Regions from separate parts of the Homo sapiens genome. Here regions 1 and 3 are each linked to region 2. Evidence: promoter capture Hi-C in 16 types of primary human blood cells and fetal thymus (Javierre and others, 2016). All regions are on one chromosome and are shown on one strand. Each heading gives the region's core, a stretch centred on a gene start or on the middle of the fragment in contact. The rest is flanking DNA. Distances are from core to core; before and after follow the strand shown.

Region 1 (2,842 bases), core at 172-2,671, 1.2 Mb after region 2:
GAAACCCCGTCTCTACTAGAAATACAAAAAATTAGCCGGGCGTGGTGGCGGGTGCCTGTAGTCCCAGCTACTCGGGAGGCTGAGGCAGGAGAATGGCGTGAACCCGGGAGGCGGAGCTTTCAGTGAGCCAAGATTGCACCACTGCACTCCAGCCTGGGCGACAGAGTGAGACTCCATCTCAAAAATAAAATAAAATAAATTAAATTAAATTAAATTAAAAATAAAAAAAGAAGTATCAAGACAAAAACGTCAATAGTGCTGAGGTTGAGAAACCCTGATTTACAACATTAATATCTTTCACTCTGCATCAACATTTACAACATCTGTCCCTCCCAAATGAGGAATCTCATTTATTATTAGTAATTTCAGGACAGGAACTAAGTGAAATAAATTACTAAGTGAAAGGTAGTAACTAAATGTTCTTCTTCTGAGGGATCCCAAGGCTAAAATTACCAAAAATGAAAATAAAGCAAAATTAATTCAACCAAACTTGATTTTCATTGTACATGTGGCAATACTAGATGTTATGAATAACAACAAATGTAAGACATATGGTGCCCCAAAAAGCTTAATATTCTTGAGAGAATAAGACACATATACTTGGAAAAGTAATAACAGTAAGGCAAATTGTGAGTAAAAATGCTTAATATGTAAGTAAGAATAATTGAGAAAAATGAGTTGGCCTTTAAAAAATAGATTTAAGAAGAAAAGAATTTTAGAATGGAAGCAATTAACAATATCTCATTTAACTATTGATTTTGTAGGTGAAGTAGCTGAAACACAGACTGACTAACTTATCCAAATTATGAGAGCAAATTACTGAGACCAGAACTTTAGTCTCCTGATTCCTGATCCTTTGTTGCTGTTTCCTGTATAACACACTGCCTTTGTGATTGCTGGAAAGACATAAACAGAGAAGGCCGTGTATGACTATCAGTGGAAATGTACATCATCTCTTCATCATCATCATCATCATGTAGCAATGCTAGATGTTGTGAATACTAGATGCTGATTCTCAATCCTGGATATGTTGACCTCACGGTGGACATTTGGTGATGTCTGGGGACATTTTTGATTGTCCATCATCATCAGAGCTGACATTTGAGTGTTTAGTAAACATACTGGTGAAGGGTTCACATTATGAAATATCAGAAAGTAAGATTGGAAAGGAATGAGCATCTCAAGAAGAAAAGATAAGACTAAACAGAATAGTAACAGTCTCGATCTAAATGTTGTAGATGTTAAATGACAAATAAAAGCAAGTGCTACAAAAATTTCAAAGATGGTCAGATTCCGATGGCTTAAGGGTAGTTAGGCAGGGCTTGGTAGAAGAGGTGAGTTGGAGCTGAGAATTCAAGAGCTCCACAGGATTTGGAAAGAGAGGAGAGGTCAATCTAGATAAAGAAGGCAGTATAGGGCACAGAGTTAAATAAACCAAGTGGCTTTCAGGACAGCGAAGAAACAAAACTAGCTAGAGTAGAGGACTTGAGTAGAGGGGAAATAAGACTGAAAAGGCACGATGGCTCCAGATTGTGCAGGAACCCAGGCAAACTGAATTTACTCTGGCAAAGAGAAGTCACTGCAAGTGCTTAAGCAGAATAACTTGATTAAAGTTTTAGGAAGATTCATCTGGCAATGACGTAGGATGGATTGAGCCAAGAGAGATATAAGGGAAGGCAGGGAGCTATTCATCTAATAAGAGTAAGAATAAAGAATAACAATACTATACAATATCTATAATGTATTTAGTTATTATTACTTGGTAGACACTGTGCTAACATGCACTTTTTAATTTAATTCTCATCACAACCCTACAAAGGAAATTGAATTAGTGAACATTTTTTCCCCTCCACTCTCACATACCACTCAACACAACACTTCCCACACCACATGTGTGGGAGTTATTTCCCCACACACCAAGCAATCAGCTCTGCAGTGGACATCAGCTGGGTGTCTTCTAGTTCAATTATGATTCTATATACTTGGAAATAGGGTCAAATCCCACAGGTTGAGGGCTCAGGCCCGCAAGAATTCCCCCCGCTTCAGATGCCAGTCACAAGTAGTAGACTGTCACCCATACTTCTGACTGACCAGCAATAAATTGGGAGCCCCTACAACCCCCTCCTTAGATTCAGTTAACTTGCTAGAGCAGCTTACAGAACTCAGGCAAACATTTTACTTACATCAACTCACTAATTACGGAGGATATTACAAAGGATACAGATGAACAGCCAGCTGGAAGAGGTACATAGGGCAAGGCATGTGAGGGGGGTATGAAGCTTCCATGCCCTCTCTGAGCATGCCACCCTCAAGGAACCTCTATATGTTCAGCTATTCAGAAGCTCCCCACAAGCTATCCTTTTAACTTTTTATGGAAACTTTATTACATAGGCATGATTGATTACACTGGTCATTGGTGATCAACTCAGTCTGCAGCCTCTCTCCCCTCCCTGGTGGCTGGGAGATGGGGCTGAAAGTCCCAACACTCATCATGCCTCGGTCTTTCTGGTGACCAGCCCCCATCCTGCAACCAGTCATCTCACTAGCATTCAAAAGCCACTCTTATCATTTAAGAGATTTCAAAGGTGAGATTTCTAGCCTGGGTGAGATGTTGTCCAGGCTAGAGTGCAGTGGTGTGATCATAGCTCACTACAGCCTCTACCTCCCATGCTCAAGTGTATTATCCCCATTTTATAAGTGAGAAAATTGAGTCAAAGAGATGCTAAGTAACTTGTCCTTATCACAAACTAGGGAGTAGAGAAGGCAGAATTTGTACCTAGATAATATGACACCATAATATGAGCTTATATTCTGAACTATGCCATGTAAACAAAGTATGGGA
Region 2 (2,816 bases), core at 15-2,514:
ATGACTTAAAGGAAAAACGTCAGGATACGCAACCAAGTAGAGTACTAATGAATGAAAAATGTGATCAATGTTAATGAAGGTGATGTAACAATAAGACCCAAAGGAGGAGATAAAATACTGACACTAAAATAAACAGCCTTTAACTGAAAACCTAATAAAATATCTTTTCCCCACCTCATAAGATGGATCTCAAAGGTCACTGAGTGGAGATAAGAGTCAGGAAATGGCATACAGAGTGCTAGCATTTTGCACTTTTGTTAGACTCTGAACAATCATTTATGGGCTGCAGTTTGTCTGAATCTAGGTACTTTTCCGGCTCTCAGGTAGAGCAGGAGTCATTTTTCTGCACGCTGTTCTCCTACCCCAACTATCATTTCTTAACAGGGATCTCTGGGGTCCACTCTTTGAGTGTTTTGAAACAGAAAGGAAGAAATCCAACATTATCACTTTAGTTTGCATTATCAGACAGATTGCACCTTCTGCTTTCTCCATACTGTGACCCAGTGTCCAGCCTAGGGTATTCGAATGGCAAGATCTGACCTGCGCAACAGCCAAAGGGAGCCACCAGCCTCCCCTATGCCACTCACATTTTCCCACCACCAATATCTGTAAGCGGTACCAGAAATCAAAACTGAGCCTTAAATAGTCAGAGCTAGTGAGGGGGTTGTATTTCTTAGCCCTGATAACCACTTAAACGAGTAAAATTTAATTCCCCTAAGGAACCCCGCCTGAAGCAAACCCTCCCCAAGGGCACCACTGAGGGGGTAGCGCTGAAATGTTTTGGAAGATTCAGTCACCTGTTTCCAAATATTACCTAACTAGCTTCGCCTCCTTCCCTCCGAGCTCCCCTGCAGTTACTCCAGGACCCCGAAGGCCTCTTTCTGGGCACATTTGGGCCTCCCCACTCAGACAAGCCGCACTTTCTCCCTGCTCACAGGCTGCATGTCAGGGATGGTAAGTGGGGGGTGGAGAAAGTGGAGAGGCCGGGGTTCAACCCAGCAGACTCCTGCAGACCGGGCCTCGGTCGGAGACGCGAGCCCCTAGCCTAGCTAGGTTCCTTCGTCGACCTTGAGAAAGGGGCGCGGATCCGTGTCCCGCAGAGGACACGGGGTCTCGGAGCCCGCACAGGCTGAGGGGCAGGGGTCCGGCCGAGCCGGGCCGCCTCACCTGCACTTCTGTCGGCCCACAGGATTAATGGCAGCACCAGCCCGAGTACAAGCCCCGGCGCGACCATGCTTGCAAGGATCTGACCGCCGCCTAGGACTGGGAAAGTGGGTTCCCGGCAGGGGCGGGGCCTGGGCGGGGGCGAGGCCGACTCCACCCTTTTGCAGTCCTCGCAGCCTCCCGCGACCTCAGGACTGGGCTGTACTCGCCCCTTCTCGGCCGCCGTAGTTTTTTTTTTTTTTTAAAGAAAAAACGGTTACCCAGCAACTAGAAAAACAACCGGAACCGGCGGCACCAGCTCGGAGAGAAAGGAGGTGAGGCCGCTTCCCCACTTCCTCTCCGATACCAAGACCTAGCCTTTTCCCTTCGTCTCTCTTATTCTCTCAGCATCCCAGACACAGCCTCGGAGCCCTGGGCCGTTTGGGAGCCGAGGCAGCCCATTCTGCGCGAGTCTGAAATCCCAGGTCCTCAACATCCCGCCCCCGACTAGACCCGTCTGCCCCCTCCGCCCGCCCTCCTCTGCCCACATTGGTTCAGAATCTCGCCAGCTCTTTTCACCACTCTAGAATGGTTCGATACCCCCATCTACTGCTCCCTCAGAAAAAGCAAAAGAGAGGAGTCAGGCGTGGTGGCGCGCGCCTGTAATCCCAATTGCTCGGGAGGCTGAGGCGGGATCATCGCTGGAGCCCAGGAGTTCGAGGCCAGAGACCCCCTCTCAAAGAAAAAAAAAGCGATGAAACGAGAACCCTCCATAGTCTGAGCCTCATTAAACCGTCCAGTTCTCCCAACCTGGACCCCTACCACGGCCTCCGCCTCTATTCCGCATTGACGCACACTCTCACATTAACAGGCCAGGTCCCGGAGGATTCTTTTCATACTCAGTAGTAGCTCAGCCCGCTGCTTAGCAGCTACCCTTAATCTAGCCCTTGTATTTCAAGACAGAAAGAGACAACCTGATCAAGAAGAAACCGAAAAATATAAGAATTCTAAAACTTTAGAGGCTGGGATTTCAAAATCATGACACACAGCCCCATCCCATCCCATCCCTCCCTCACACACACGCACGCACAACCCCATTCCACAGTACGAAGGTGTTCGAAGCATTGTGGGTCATGCTTCAGAAGTGGCAGCAAGGGGAAAGATTGTGCAACTTCTTCATTCAACAAATTAATTTCTAGAACCAGGACTAATTTCTACTCTTTAAAAAAAAATAGACCTCAAAGAAGGTCTTCTCAGCAATTGACAATGAATTTAACTTTTTAGCAATCATTCTCTCTAAATTCCTGTGTGATAGCAAAAATTACCCTTACCTTTTGAGCATATAAAGGGTAAAGAGAGAAAAAGTCATATTGAAAATTATGGGTTTTTTGCAGGATTTTAAATGATTTGGCCTAGTGAATGGGTCTGTGTTTGTATTATACTAATTCACAATGGAGATTTCAAAACTCTTTGGAAGAAATGGATGGGCTTGGGTTGTGTTAGGGAAAAAAGAATTCAAGTCCAGATGTATGAGTCTCAGAAATAATTTGTTGGCATAGTTGTGATTATATAAGTAAAATCAGACAAATTTAAAGACAGTACTCTTTAATGAATCTTTAGGTTCCATAGGCAGTTCTTACCAAGAAGATGTCGATTCCATTCTCCAACACCCA
Region 3 (2,700 bases), core at 148-2,647, 1.2 Mb after region 2:
CTAACATGGTAAAACCCCATCTCTACTAAAAATTCAAAAATTAGCCAGGCGTGGTGGCCCACACCTGTAGTAGTCCAGTTACTCCGGAGTCTTAGACAGGATAATCGCTTGAACCCAGGAGGTGGAGGTTGCAATGAGCCGAGATCATGCCACTGCACTCCAGCCTAGGTGACAGCAAGACTCCATCTCAAAAAAAAAAATTATTAAAGCATAGAAATTATATGTATGCACGTATATACACATTATATGTGTGTGAGAGAACACAACACTGCTTTTGTGATTTTTTTTTTTTAGATCAAATCACTCTTTTATGGTTAAAAGCAGGGACTCAGTCTGAAGCCAAACTGCTTGAGTTAGAATTTCAGCTCCACTACTTACTAGCTGAGTAACCTTGGGCAAGTTATTTAACTTCCCTGTGCCTCATGTTATTCATCTGTGAAAAGCAGATAATCCCACAGCTGAAAATTACATGAATTAATAAATGTAAAGCACATAGAACAATGGCAGGCACATAAAGTACTCCCTAAGTACCTGTTACATAATGTGCATTAAGCAGTATGCCCCATATCATGTAGTTTCAAGCTTTTCTTATGCCAGAACTATACTGTCCTGTTTTAGGACCTGAAGGTGGCAAGACAGTAGAAAGCAGGAGTAAGAGTGGAAATGAAAGCAGGTAATAGATTCCCTAGAACTGAGTTAATGCCCCTCTAAACTGTTCTGATACTACCCTGTATTGAATTTATGATGGCCTTAGCCATTCTTTCTCCATTTGACTGCTATAAAACGGAGATAAGGGAATGAGCAATTTATGAGCTGGGAATTTATTATCAGAAAACTGACCAATGTTATCTCTTGCAGAAGGTCCTACAGTGTAGGGGAAGCAATGGAAGAACTTCTACCTGATGGACAAATATGGGCTAATATGGATCCAGAAGAACGAATGTTGGCAGCTGCTACAGCTTTTACCCACATCTGTGCAGGGCAGGGTGAAGGAGATGTCAGGAGAGAAGCCCAATCTATCCAATATGATCCCTACAGTAAAGCTTCAGTAGCCCCAGGGAAGCGACCTGCTCTTCCTGTGCAACTACAGTACCCACATGTAGAAAGTAATGTCCCTTCAGAAACAGTCTCTGAGGCCTCCCAAAGACTCCGAAAGCCAGTGATGAAGAGAAAGGTGCTGCGCAGAAAGCCAGATGGGGAAGTATTAGTAACAGATGAGTCGATTATCAGTGAATCAGAATCTGGTACAGAAAATGATCAGGATCTCTGGGACTTAAGACAAAGGCTGATGAATGTACAGTTCCAGGAAGACAAGGAATCTTCATTTGATGTTTCACAAAAATTTAACCTACCACATGAATACCAAGGAATTTCTCAAGATCAGCTCATTTGCTCTCTACAAAGAGAAGGAATGGGCTCTCCAGCTTACGAACAAGACCTGATTGTTGCCAGCAGACCCAAGTCCTTTATTCTCCCAAAGCTGGACCAGTTAAGCCGAAACCGGGGCAAGACAGACCGGGTAGCCCGGTATTTTGAGTACAAACGGGACTGGGACTCAATACGTTTACCTGGTGAAGATCATAGAAAGGAATTACGCTGGGGTGTCCGAGAGCAGATGCTTTGTCGAGCAGAACCCCAATCCAAACCTCAGCATATATATGTCCCAAACAATTATCTAGTACCAACAGAGAAGAAAAGGTCTGCACTCCGTTGGGGTGTTCGTTGTGACCTTGCAAATGGTGTCATACCCAGGAAGCTTCCCTTCCCTCTTTCTCCTTCTTAAATCTTTTTAAACTTCTTTCACAGGATTGTTTGAGATAACCTAGCTCTTTATATCTTCCCTTTTAAATAGAAACAACTGTCTTGAGAAGCTCTTCGAAACATTTTATGGTAAGGACTTCACCTATCATTGGTCTTTCCTAGCTATATATCACATTGGTATCAGATGATACTTCCAAATTGCCACTCAAATCCAGCAATTGCAAGATAAATCATATCAGAGAAAGAACAACAGACCTGGTCTTTCTATTTTGTCAAATTAGTAAGGGCCCTTTGTGTCCTGTAACTTTTTTTACCTATCAATATGAGTTGCTGTGCTTCAGTGTGTGTTTTTTAAGTTGCTGGGCATTACACTTACCAATTAAAGAATTTTGGAAATTCATGAACTTGAACATTATTTCATGAAATACTTGCCTAAGATGATCTTGAACCTGGGCTATGATGAGAGCTCAAAAGAAGGAACAAGCCGGGCGCGGTGGCTCACGCCTGTAATCCCAGCACTTTGGGAGGCTGAGGCGGGCGGATCACGAGGTCAGGAGATCGAGACCATCCTGGCTAACACGGCGAAACCCCGTCTCTACTAAAAATACAAAAAATTAGCCGGGCGAGGTGGCGGGCGCCTGTAGTCCCAGCTACTCGGGAGGCTGAGGCAGGAGAATGGCGTGAACCCCAGGGGGCGGGGCCTGCAGTGAGCCGAGATTGCGCCACTGCACTCCAGCCTGGGCGACAGCGAGACTCCGTCTCAAAAAAAAAAAAAAAAAAAGAAGGAACAAAAACCTGCCTTTTACATAGTCCTAAAGGATGGGAGAGGTTAACAACATGGATAGCCTCATTACTAAAGGTGTACAACAAATCCAAGTAGCTTTAAAATACTTTCTAACAAATGCCCCAAAACAGTACCATATAACATACAGGATTCAA

Evidence for each region. The method cuts DNA at HindIII sites, captures the fragments that hold promoters and counts their contacts. A CHiCAGO score of 5 or more calls a contact.
Region 1: a fragment that was not itself captured here is called in contact with the fragment with the promoter of SIAE in region 2 in 2 of 17 cell types (total B cells and non-activated CD4 T cells); the score reaches 6.0 in total B cells.
Region 3: a fragment that was not itself captured here is called in contact with the fragment with the promoter of SIAE in region 2 in 1 of 17 cell types (total CD8 T cells); the score reaches 7.6 in total CD8 T cells.

Annotation. Positions count from the first base shown.
Region 1 is chr11:125,877,291-125,880,132 of GRCh38, forward strand. It overlaps LINC03136 (long intergenic non-protein coding RNA 3136), which reads right to left. Exons shown (of 2, transcript XR_007062935.1): 1 at 1-2,842. Among named protein-coding and RNA genes, the nearest start is that of LINC03136, 4.1 kb to the right of the region's middle. The HindIII fragment of the contact is 1,712 bases long and covers 566-2,277 here.
Region 2 is chr11:124,672,475-124,675,290 of GRCh38, forward strand. It overlaps SIAE (sialic acid acetylesterase), which reads right to left and starts at 1,265. Exons shown (of 10, transcript NM_170601.5): 1 at 1,168-1,265. The coding sequence starts at 1,234. SPA17 (sperm autoantigenic protein 17) reads left to right here and starts at 1,430. Exons shown (of 5, transcript NM_017425.4): 1 at 1,430-1,478; 2 at 2,764-2,816. The coding sequence starts at 2,791. RefSeq lists silencers at 1,201-1,320, 1,293-1,451 and an enhancer at 1,361-1,540. The HindIII fragment of the contact is 8,074 bases long and covers 1-2,816 here.
Region 3 is chr11:125,898,486-125,901,185 of GRCh38, forward strand. HYLS1 (HYLS1 centriolar and ciliogenesis associated) reads left to right here. Exons shown (of 3, transcript NM_001134793.2): 3 at 859-2,161. The coding sequence starts at 884. The coding sequence ends at 1,783. All of the region lies in intron 1 of PUS3 (pseudouridine synthase 3), which reads right to left. Among named protein-coding and RNA genes, the nearest start is that of PUS3, 3.4 kb to the right of the region's middle. The HindIII fragment of the contact is 713 bases long and covers 1,042-1,754 here.